Regions from separate parts of the Homo sapiens genome. Here regions 1, 2 and 4 are each linked to region 3. Evidence: promoter capture Hi-C in 16 types of primary human blood cells and fetal thymus (Javierre and others, 2016). All regions are on one chromosome and are shown on one strand. Each heading gives the region's core, a stretch centred on a gene start or on the middle of the fragment in contact. The rest is flanking DNA. Distances are from core to core; before and after follow the strand shown.

Region 1 (2,700 bases), core at 179-2,678, 4.6 Mb after region 3:
GATACAGACTGATACAAGAAAGAGGACTGATAGATGGGTCACTTCCTCCCCTCCATTCTCTGATTCTGTCTGTTCTCAACACTAGCTTAGAAAGTAGCTTTTGGACTTTTTAGACAAAATGTCTGGAAAGCTCAGCACTAAGTCAAGTTTGAAGTATGGGATGGACAGCTCTATGTAACATTCTATCCGATCACCATCAGAAGGTCTGGACCACAAGAGAGATGAATGCCAAATTTAGGAGCCAGCCAGCTTGGCAGAGTCCCTGGTATATCTCAGGCCCTTGACTAGGTACTGGGGCTCTAGAGTAAGTAAGTCACTGACTCTGCCCTTCAGGAACTTATGCTTGAAATCTTGCTAGCTGTGGTCAAGAATATTCAGTCCATATTGTGAAGGCCGACTGGTAGCCACGTAACTGTCACACAAGGGACAGATGTAGCTGGGAGAATGGATGAAATTGCTTAGGGAGAAAGTCATGCTAGAAGAGCAAAGAATATACTCTTGGAGAATACTCATTCTTTTCACTCATGTTTGGTTTATGTCAGTGGGGAATCCTGGTTAAACATAGGGTTTGGCAGCAAATCAGACTAAGCTGGGTTTAAATTTTATATCAATTATGCGTTCTTGGGCAAGTCACTTCAACTCTCAAAAGTCCAAATTTACTATTTATAAAATGGTGAGGCTAGCAGAATCTATCACATGGGACTGTGGGGACTTAGAAAAATACATGTAGAGTGTTTGCCTAGTGCCTAGCAGAGAGCAAAGGGCATGGTTAAGTGGTAACTGTTATTGCTGTTTAGGCACATGTTGGCAATAATTAGTTTGTCCTGATTAGAAACAATTAGATGGTACCTAACCTGGAATTCGAACTAGGAAATTAAACTCCAGAGCGAGTCTGGTTTAGTCTAGTGCTTGCCCTGGACCGAGCTCTGTTCTTGCTACCTTGCTTTCAAAACATGGTGGCTATCACTATAATTTTTTTCATGTGTTCCATGGGTATTGCACACATTGAAAACTGCATTCTCTTGGAAAACCTGTCACTAATTTTCTGCCAGGATAATGGTCTCACGCGATTTTTGGTCTGGGATGTGAGAGGGTCCAGGCTGTCAGGCTGTACAGCCACGTGGGCGCTGCGTGGGAGCCAGAGGCCTGCGCTGCTCCAACCGCCAGGGGGCGGTGCTCTCCGCCGCGGCCGCGGAGAGCTGCACCGCCCACTCACCACCCCCCCCCACGTGGGTCCGAATGGTTAGGTCCGCTGGGCAGGTAGCGCGCTTCCGCGGCTTCCCTCCGCCCCTCTCCCTTCCCCCATTGGTAGGGGCTGCGGGTCCGGGCGGAAGTGGGGCAGGCGGGCGGGAGCGAGGCGTCGTCGTTGTATATTCATGAGGCGCGCGCAGCCCGGCATGCTAATGAGGCGGGGCGCGGCGGCTGGCTAAAGAGCGACTGGGCGGCGGCGGGCGCGGAGCTGCCAGGCGGGAGCGGCGTAGGCGCGGGGTCGCCGGCCAGCGTGAACCGGGACATGGAGCCGCCCGGCGGGAGCCTGGGGCCCGGCCGCGGGACCCGGGACAAGAAGAAGGGCCGGAGCCCAGATGAGCTGCCCTCGGCGGGCGGCGACGGCGGCAAATCTAAGAAATTTGTGAGTGTCCCTCCCATCCCGCTCCTGCCTGGCCCCGTAACCGCCCTCTGGACCCCTGCAGCCGGCCCCTGGGGCGCCTGCCCGGCTTTGGGGAGCCGCCCCCGCGCCTTCCTTCCTCGTTTCGCTCGGTCCGCAGCTCTGCAGCCCGACATCCTCTCCCTTCGGGACCTCGGGAAGCCCCGGAATCCCACCCGGCTCTTGCCCCGGCCACCTCGGGGCTTCCCTCGTTCCCCAGCCCTTACATTCTGCCCTCCCGCCCGCATATCCCCGGCCGGCTCTCAGCCCCGTCTCTCCCCTCTCAGCCTCACTTCCTTTCTTCTTCCTCCAGTACCCGAACACGCCTCCTCTTTTTTGGTCCCCTCTTCTGGGTCCATTTTCTCTTCTTAACCTTACACCTTTTTTGGTATTCTCGTATTTCCTTCTCCTAAAGGTCACTTCCTTCTCCATGATTCATCCTTTTTACCTGCTAACTTTCCTCCCGCCCAGTCCCCCGTGGGCCCTCCGCCCGGTGTCACTTGATAATCCTTCCCCTGAGGAATGTTACCTGACTTGAGCCCTACCCCCAACTCCTTCTTTGGACGTTTGTCCTTGCGATTACAGGAATGGGCTCCTGCCCAGGTCCTATGGTCACTGGGGCATGACGTTTATTTGTTTACCAGTATTCCTCTCTCCAGAGAACCTCTCTCTTTGCCCTGTTGCTTATCACTTTTCAGAGGATTAGAACTCTCATGATTGTGCCCTTCTTGACCTAGGATGGTGATAAACCTCTCCTGTGGGAAGAAAGTTGGACTGCGAGTTCAAGAAGTTTGTAATTGAATTGTTTTTTATACATTTCCCATGATAACCGTCTCCTCTACTCCTTTTCTACTGCCTCTTGTGCCCCAAGGCGACTATCGGCTTCCCTTTGCGTGCCTGTAGAAGAGTAAGCTTTCCTCAAGTGCCAGTTACTTTCAATCCGAGTGAAGGAATAGTGATATACATGTAACCCTATCATATTTCATTACCTTTTGCCCACACCAACGCCTCTCTCCAGGGAGCCGTTTGGTTGCTTTTTTGCTATAAAAGCTTTG
Region 2 (2,787 bases), core at 20-2,519, 3.3 Mb before region 3:
CGCCATCACACCCGGCTAATTTTTGTATTTTTAGTAGATACGGGGTTTCATCATGTTGGCCAGGCTGGTCTCGAACAACTGACCTCAAGTGATCTGCCCGCCCCGGCCTCCCGAAGTGCTGGGATTACAGGCGTGAGCCACTGCGCCCGCCCCCCATTTCTATTTTAATTAAATTTTATTTAGGATAGGCTTAGCTTAAATTTTTACGACTGAGGTCTGACTTAAGATGATAGCATCAACCATGGAGTTTTCTTTCGTGAACATTATTATTACTAAGCCCAATTTTCCCAGGTCAAATTTTGTAAAACAAAACGTGGTCAAAATTTGATTCTCTGATCGATTTTTTGTAAAAAAGAAAAAAATTACCGTGTAGTTTTAAATGTTGTCAATTAAATTTTGTAATAGTTACCTCTACTCTGTTCAGGTTAATACTGAGGTTTTCAACAAGACCAACATACGATTCTTTTTTTTTTTTTTTTTTTTTTTTTTGGTGGGGTTGAGGGGACATAACAGTTTTTTCACTCTTGTTAAATTAATTTTCTGTTGATTCCATCTATCCTTAATCTTCATTATGAGCAACATACCAGGTTTTCTTCTGAAGATCATATGTGGTAGTGAGGCAATAATGCAAAGACATAGGATGGCAGGGGGATTCCGGCTTCTTTCTTTCTTCCCCTCCTGTGGAAAGAGGGTCTATAACACTCCGTAGTAGATAGGACAATTCTAATTATGAAGGGTAATTAGCTAGGCTCTGCTACAACCGAGAGCCCTGAGAGATTCCTCGACGCTGGCTGCTTTTCTCTTCCTCTCCACCAGAGGCGACAGCCTCTTTCCAAACAGAAACTGGGTTGGAATAGGCCGGTCCGGGGGAACGGCCAGAAGAAAGATCAAAGGTTAAAAACCGCCTCAAAGAGCACAGGTCAATACCCAACTCCTAAGGAGGCCTTAAGCTTTCATCTGCCACGAAACATGAAGGTGACTCCTCCCAATATCAAGGCCGGGGGGCCACTCAGCCTTCCAGAGACCCGGCGGGTCCGAGGCGAGTAACAGGTAACACCTGCTGAGCCGCCGCCGACCGGAAGTGGAAGAGAGCCCGGGACGGGGGTGAGGACAGGCCGCGGCACGCCTGCGCAGTCAGCAGGAGTTGCAGCGCTCATGCGCAGCTGGGCGGTGACAGGGTGACGCTCGGAGCGTGGGCCGCGACTCTCACGGATCCGGTTCCGCCCTCTCGCTGCCGATCCTTCGGAGCGAGCGCCCGAGATCCCTTTCCCAGAGTGCTCTGCGCCGTGAAGAAGCGGCTCCCGGGGACTGGGGGCATTTTGTGTTGGCTGGAGCTGGAGTAACAAGATGGCGTCGTCCGCGGAGTGACAGGGGTCCCTCTGGGCCGGAGCCGGCGGCAGTGGTGGCAGCGGTATCGCCGCCCTAGCTCACCGCGCCCCTTTTCCAGCCCGCGACGTCGCCGCGCAAGCGAGGCAGCGGCGGCCGCCGAGAAACAAGTGGCCCAGCCTGGTAACCGCCGAGAAGCCCTTCACAAACTGCGGCCTGGCAAAAAGAAACCTGACTGAGCGGCGGTGATCAGGTTCCCCTCTGCTGATTCTGGGCCCCGAACCCCGGTAAAGGCCTCCGTGTTCCGTTTCCTGCCGCCCTCCTCCGTAGCCTTGCCTAGTGTAGGAGCCCCGAGGCCTCCGTCCTCTTCCCAGAGGTGTCGGGGCTTGGCCCCAGCCTCCATCTTCGTCTCTCAGGATGGCGAGTAGCAGCGGCTCCAAGGCTGAATTCATTGTCGGAGGGAAATATAAACTGGTACGGAAGATCGGGTCTGGCTCCTTCGGGGACATCTATTTGGCGATCAACATCACCAACGGCGAGGTAATCATCTGGGGTGGGGTTCACGATAACGCTGCGCTTTTACTCATTCCCCCCACCACCACCGTGCACCCCCAAAGTGCTCGGGCCTCTCCTCATCGCACGCACTCGCCAGGGAGTCCAGGGAGCTAGTTTTCCTGGCTTACGAACCTCGTCCGCTGTCTCCCTAAAAGGGTCAAGAACCCGATAGAAAGGTTGGGGGAACTAGTTTCCCACCTTGTTAAACACGTCCCATAAATGTCCCTTAGTCGAGCTTTTTTTTTTTTTAACCGTCTTTTAAGGTGGAAACGGCAAAATCCTCTTTCAGTGATTCCCATGTTTTTTTTTTTTTAATTCTTAATTCTACTGGGCCTCTTGTTCCAATTAGAACAGTTTCCGATCGCCTAGTTCCTTAAAAACCTCTCACTACGTTCAGAGGTTGCCTCTTTTTTCTGGATGAATCATTTTCCTGCACTTTAGAGGACGTACGGATTTCGTCACTACCCCCTGAAGAGGCCTTTGAGGCTGGTTGCCTCGTTTTATAATTACCGAGAGCTTTCTCTTTCCAGCTTTTCACTTCTTCTTGTAGTCGCGACTTGGAGTTTTGCTAATGTCTCCCTCCTTTCCTAAGTGACATTGAATCCGTAGGGATGTTGATGCCATCATCCCCTCTTTCCCCTGCAGGAAGTGGCAGTGAAGCTAGAATCTCAGAAGGCCAGGCATCCCCAGTTGCTGTACGAGAGCAAGCTCTATAAGATTCTTCAAGGTGGGGTTGGCATCCCCCACATACGGTAAGAACCCGGTGCATATAGGCGATCCGCTGAGGGAAGCACGGAATGGGGAAGTGGGTAGAGGCAGGTAATGAGACCAGCTGAATCCGGGTCTTGGTGTTTTAGTTACCTGGGTTCCCTATAGCTGGTGGTTTCCTGTAAGTCAGTCATCTCA
Region 3 (2,880 bases), core at 8-2,507:
CTCCCAATAACATTTCTACTAACACCACCCAAAATATTTTTAAAAGACAGGTCTCTCATTCTTTTCGGTCCCTCATACTACACCCCAATTATCTTCAGGTGTCCTCTCAATCTTACAAAAACATTTACAAAACTGTCCTCTCAATGGCACAAGAATACTTACAAATCTCTTATTCTTTCTACCGCTCCTTTTATTCCTCCAACACCACCTGTATCTAAAAATCCCTACATACTGTTAGGTATACTCCTCCACCAATTAATGCTGCATACCAGTGTAGCCCTTTCAACCTTCAACTAAACTTACAGAAACCTCTTTTTTCCAACCTCTATGTATCTAAAAGTCATCAGTTCCCCTAGCACTATCAAGCCCTCAATAATACTTTAAAATCCCTTAATATCCTTGCTATCACACTTATCACCTCCCCAATAATTTCTAAAACCCTTCAATGCCCACACATCCTTTTCATCTACTCCATAGTATTTTTCAAATCCTTCAATATTCTTGATCCCTCAGAACTTACCAATAATCGCTATACAGTTTCAATGTCCCTGCTATCCGCTTCTGCCCTCATATTTCGAAAATGCCCTCGATATTTTGCTTCTAGACCTTTCAGTCCCGGAATAATAATGTTTATCAAACCCTTGATATTCTGCTATTCCCTTCGACATCTCAATATTCACATTTTAAAAATCCCTCAAGAGCCCCGTTACCTCTCTCTCAGTTCTCAAACAGCAATGTTTTAAATTCCCTCACGGCCCCTGCTACCCCTTCCAGCACCCCGATATTTGCGTTTGAAAAGCCTTCGCTGTCCTTGCCTGCCCCCCCAGTCCCCATATTCACGGCGCCTCTCCGTCCCCAGCGCTCCTCTCCCACCCTCACCCCCACCACAATGGTGATAGTACTACAGGGAAGGCGTCGCCGGGACCTCCCGGCCGCGGCCCCTCAGCGCCGCCCCCCACGCCACCTCCCCTCCCCCACGCCCCCGCGAGCCCCCAACGCCCACGTTCGCCGGCCCCGGCCCAGCCCGGCTCACTCACATCGGCTCCAGTAACTTGGCCAGCCAGGACTTGAGGGCATCCACATCCTCTATGAGCATGGTGCAGGGAAGGCGGGCTCGGCCGCCGCTCTTCTTCAGGCCTGCCGTGGGTCTCCACTACGCCGCCCCCTCACGTTCCCTTCACAGCTCCCGGTGCCCCAGCCCACCGGGCATCTTAGGAGACTTCAACCTACTCCCCCGGCCGGGGCCTAACAGGAACTAACCCAAGAGCCCTCACTCAACCTAGCCCGAAGGCTGAGGTGGGCGGGAGACAGTGCCGAGTGGCAGGCCTGAGAACCAGTAAGAGAGAGGGGGCCCTGAGGGCAAGACCAATGAAAAGGCTCGCTCGCCCCGCCGGCAGGCGGTACCCAGTCAGGGAGGAGAGATATAGCAAGGTAGGTGGAGAGCTTAAGTGAACTCCTGGTGCAAGATGGTATCTTGGAAAAGGTGCTTTGCCTCTTAAAGGGGCAGCGGCGCCTTTTTTTGACCACGCCGCCGCCCGCCGCGGAATACCGGTGTCTGCTGCTGGGAGTGCCTGGGGGAACCCGGCGAGCCCCTCAGCCTGGTTCCTTCCTCTCGTTTTTCTTGGAAACACACACTCGTGTCCCGAAATGACTCAGCTGTAGTAAATCTGCAACACAACGTGCAATACGTTCACGTTCGACACATTGCACAGAATGCAAAATTTTACTTTTTTTCTTTACACACTCATGTTGATTGGCACTCACGTTTGTATTTTCTGCTGCTCTGCTTTAATTACGCAGAATGTTTCTGACAACCATGCCTTGGAATCCAGTAATCGTCATTTTTAAAACGTGGCGCACGGATGTAAAAGGCTGAGGCCATTTCAATTTTGCTAGTACTATTAATAAATGTTGCTTTATTTAGGAAGAAAAATGACTCCAATAGTTTGTTTTTAATTATCTTTTCATTGTATATCTAAAATTCAGTGGTTGGGGGACGGGAAGGGAGAATTTTAATCAGCAAAGAAGGATTACAAAAAAATTTTTAAGACAAATTAGAAACTACTGAAATAGTCAACTTACTTTCTAGTAGGTGAGAAATTCTTTCTGGAGTTTTGAAATCACTGATTTAGCACTGATGTTAAAATGTTTACCCAATAACATATACTGAGTCCCTGCAATTGCCAGCACTGAGTAAGGCACTAGGAGTCCAATGCTGAGCAAAACAGAGCTTCTCCTCTTAAGATGATGAACAGTTTATGGGGTTATGCATTGTAATAACATTTTGAAAAATACCTAATGAGCACGCACCTCATATAAAAGAAATGGATCAACCTCAAATAAACAGACATCCTATATATACATAGAACAGGTATAGGCAAACTTCTGCAAAGGATCAGATACTAAATATTTTGGTTTTGTGAGCCTTGAGGTATCTATGGCAACTACTCGTCATACAATGTCTTGGCTTAAAATTAACCAGGGACAATATGTAAATGGAATGATTGTGGCTGTATTACAAACATTTATTAAAATTATATAAAATTTTAAATTTATATAATTTTCACATACCATGAAATATTATCTTTTCATTTTTTTCTCCATTTAAAAATGTAGGCCAGGCTGGGCGCGGTGCCTCACACCTGTAATCCCAGCATTTTGGGAGGCCAAGGCGGGTGGATCACCTGAGGTCAGGAGTTCCAGACCAGCCTGACCAACATGGTGAAACCAGTCTCTACTAAAAATACAAAATTTGCCAGGCATGGTGGCACACGCCTGCAATCCCAGGTACTCGGGAGACTGAGGCAGGGGAATCGCTTGAACCCAGGAGGCAGAGGTTGCAGTGAGCCAAGATCGTGACAAGAGCCAAAGAAACTCCAT
Region 4 (2,825 bases), core at 232-2,731, 4.6 Mb after region 3:
ATCATGAAGCCTACCAGGCCCATGAGGAAGAAGACCAGCACAAGCAGGAAGAGCATATATAGCCCATGTTGGGGCGGTTCCAGGTCAGGCTGTGGTTCCGACATGAGGCCCTGGGGGGCGAGCGCGGGCCAGGGCGCCTCCTGGGTTTAGGGGGCTGCAGCTGGGAATGGGGGAGGGGTAGGAATGCCGTCCTCAGGATCTGAAACAAGCACGTCTAAGACGTCCGGCTGAGGTCCGGCCCCACCCCCTACCCAACCAGGGAGCTGTCCGGGCCAGGAGTGCTGTTTCGCCTTTCGGCAAGAGGTCAGCGGCAACGCAAGCTCTCTACCACGACCCTGGTCCCGCTTCCCCGACGCCCCGAGCGTTCCCCTTTCCAGCTTGTTCGCGCTTCTGTCCCTCCCAAGGACACTGCAGCACGAGATGGGACGGCATTCTTAGGCGGCGGGAGCAGAAATCCTGCCTGAGTCAGCGCCCGCACCTCCTCCACGCCGGCCTGAGCCAGGCCTCTGCAGCCCCTTCCTCTCAGTACTCCCGCACCCCTCTCCCTTTTTGGTTTCTCCCACCCTGACCACCTGGCCGACCCGGTACCGGTGATTTGGTTCTGGTTCCGGCTTCTGCTGGGGTTCCGGCTCCAGGGGCGTCCTAGTGCGGCTCAGGGCCCCCGACGCCCTTCCGGCGCTCATCCCTTGATTCCTCCCCTCCCCCTTCGCCGCCTCACCGGCCCCGGGCTGTGGCTGCGGATACCCGCGCCGTGGCAGGCGGGGGGAGGGAAGAACAGAGAAGGATGCGGGCTGGCTGAGAGCGGTGGCAGGCTCCGGGCAACTCCGGCCCTGGGTCAGGGAGATCGCCTCCGCAGCCGCCCTGGCTTCCCAAATGCCTTCACCCGTCGCGGGCCCAGGACCAGGGGGCGGAGCGCAGGTGTGCGGGGCGGAGAGCGTGAGCTCTGCGCGCGCGTGACTGCGCCGGGCCCCCCCGGGGCAATGTGCGGCGCCGAGTCTGGGTCCGGGTAGGGGACAGGCGGTCCGGCGTGGGTGTTGTCCACTGGTCTATCCGGTACGCCTGGCGCAGCTCCTGCCCTCAGATGCCCCGACCGAGCGGAGAGTCAGGAATCTTCTCCGAGGGCTGGGGGAAGCCGGCTTTCCGCACCTTTGAGGGACGGAGTGGCGGGATCTTCGGAGCTTCCTAGAGAAGTGACCACGGCCTGCGCCCGGTTTGGGGCAAGCGGCTGGATGGGATGGCTCGGCTTCCCGAGGATCTGACCCCCGGCCGGAGACAAATGGCCCTCGCATCCTAGGAGCTATGCTGCCAGTTCCCTGCCCAACCCGGGACGCTCAAAGCCCCAGATACCGGGAGAGCTGAGCCGGGCGAGGGGCGGAGCTCCCCTGGGGGCGTGGCCTGGGTGTGGATGGAGGCGGGGCCGCAACGCCCAGTTCCGCAGAGGCCGGCTACGTGCTTGCGCAGCACGCACGGCCGGGGAGGGGCTGGCGGCGGCCGCGGGCGGCGGGCGGCGGAGGTGCGGGGCCTGCTCCCGCCGGCACCATGGCCAAGACCGTGGCCTATTTCTACGACCCCGACGTGGGCAACTTCCACTACGGTGAGGAAACAGGGATATGCATGAGGGGTTGGGACACGGAGGTTTTGAGGCGGGGTTGCAACTCCAGGGGTGAGAGCTGACGAACTCTCTTCTCCCCACCCCCAGGAGCTGGACACCCTATGAAGCCCCATCGCCTGGCATTGACCCATAGCCTGGTCCTGCATTACGGTCTCTATAAGAAGATGATCGTGAGTTCCGCCGCCTCGGCCGGGGGTTGGGGGGTGGGGCGAGCTGTGGCCGTAGGGATAGGTGGGCTGGACTGAGTGCATGAAGTGCGACCCGCCCCTAGAGTATCGGGGAGCTGGATAGAAGTCACCAGGAGTACCTTGAAAGTGCAGGGTGTTGGGGGTGGCGTCCTCTGCTTAATGGAAAGTACTTTCTCACCTCAGGTCGGCCACCCTCTGACTGTAGGCACACTAGCCCTTGGCCTAGGGTTAGCGTGATGTGGGGCTGGTTTGAAGACAGAAGGTGTGTTCCTCCTCTGCATTTTAGAGTGTGGATAGGGCCTTGGCCTCAGGAATTAGGGTTAGGGGAGCGGATATCACTGTATCAGGGTGTGAGGTTTACCCTCAGTTCCCACTCCTCTTTTACCACCTTTCTTTACCTCCAAGGAGCTAGGGCTCCAGGGTGGAACGATGCTGCCGTCTTTGTAAATGTGTATGTGCGTGTGGAACAGAGGCGATATTTTAGATATTCCTTTTTCAGCCTGGAATACCTCTACATGGTTCTGCTTAATCGCTATCCAGTTTTTCATCTACCAGACATACACATGCTGTCTTCCCAGCTTGGAATTTATGGCTGTGATATGGGATAGTAACAGTTAAGCCACGCCAGGCGTGGTGGCCCATGCCTGTAATCCCAGCACTTTGGGAGGTTGAAATGGGGGGGATCGCTTGAGGCCAGGAGTTGGAGACCAGCTTGGGCCACAGTGGGACCCACATCTACAAAAAATAAAAATAAAAAAAGTAGCCATGTGCGGTGGGTGTGCCTGTAGTCCCAACTACTTGGGAGGCCGAGGCGAGAGGATGGCTTGGGCCCAGGAGTTTAAAGTTACAGTGATCTATGATCAGCAGCCTGAGTTGACAGGGAGGACCTTGTCTCAAAAGAAAAAATAAGACAAAACAGCTAAACCCAGGCTTTATGTGTTGCTAGGGAAACTAGTGAACAATATGAATGAATGTTCATTGCTTGTGCCAAGGCACAGACAAATGGACTGGTCATAGAAAAGACT

What was found. Contacts are between HindIII fragments. The CHiCAGO score rates a contact against its expected background, and 5 or more counts as called.
Region 1: the fragment with the promoter of DIAPH1 here is called in contact with the fragment with the promoter of RBM27 in region 3 in 1 of 17 cell types (naive CD8 T cells); the score reaches 5.0 in naive CD8 T cells.
Region 2: a contact is called between the fragment with the promoter of CSNK1A1 here and the fragment with the promoter of RBM27 in region 3, in 1 of 17 cell types (fetal thymus). The highest score is 7.2, in fetal thymus.
Region 4: a contact is called between the fragment with the promoter of HDAC3 here and the fragment with the promoter of RBM27 in region 3, in 1 of 17 cell types (neutrophils). The highest score is 5.1, in neutrophils.

The regions. Positions count from the first base shown.
Region 1 is chr5:141,617,728-141,620,427 of GRCh38, reverse strand. It overlaps DIAPH1 (diaphanous related formin 1), which reads left to right and starts at 1,428. Exons shown (of 28, transcript NM_005219.5): 1 at 1,428-1,630. The coding sequence starts at 1,514. RefSeq lists silencers at 1,074-1,733, 1,794-1,843, 1,654-1,850. The HindIII fragment of the contact is 3,913 bases long and covers 1-2,559 here.
Region 2 is chr5:149,549,921-149,552,707 of GRCh38, reverse strand. CSNK1A1 (casein kinase 1 alpha 1) reads left to right here and starts at 1,269. Exons shown (of 10, transcript NM_001892.6): 1 at 1,269-1,866; 2 at 2,527-2,633. The coding sequence starts at 1,744. It also overlaps a transcript of ARHGEF37 not described here. RefSeq lists enhancers at 692-761, 319-1,112, 812-1,481, 1,512-1,571, 1,702-1,761 and 2 more. The HindIII fragment of the contact is 4,606 bases long and covers 953-2,787 here.
Region 3 is chr5:146,201,982-146,204,861 of GRCh38, reverse strand. RBM27 (RNA binding motif protein 27) reads right to left here and starts at 1,257. Exons shown (of 21, transcript NM_018989.2): 1 at 1,038-1,257. The coding sequence starts at 1,096. RBM27-POU4F3 (RBM27-POU4F3 readthrough) reads right to left here and starts at 1,257. Exons shown (of 20, transcript NM_001414499.1): 1 at 1,038-1,257. The coding sequence starts at 1,096. RefSeq lists enhancers at 1,042-1,201, 1,672-1,821. The HindIII fragment of the contact is 5,706 bases long and covers 1-2,880 here.
Region 4 is chr5:141,635,505-141,638,329 of GRCh38, reverse strand. HDAC3 (histone deacetylase 3) reads left to right here and starts at 1,481. Exons shown (of 15, transcript NM_003883.4): 1 at 1,481-1,594; 2 at 1,700-1,782. The coding sequence starts at 1,540. It overlaps RELL2 (RELT like 2), which reads right to left and starts at 1,333. Exons shown (of 7, transcript NM_173828.5): 1 at 1-1,333. The coding sequence starts at 104. RefSeq lists enhancers at 1-44, 745-794 and silencers at 1,305-1,594, 1,655-1,704, 1,714-2,008. The HindIII fragment of the contact is 11,354 bases long and covers 1-2,825 here.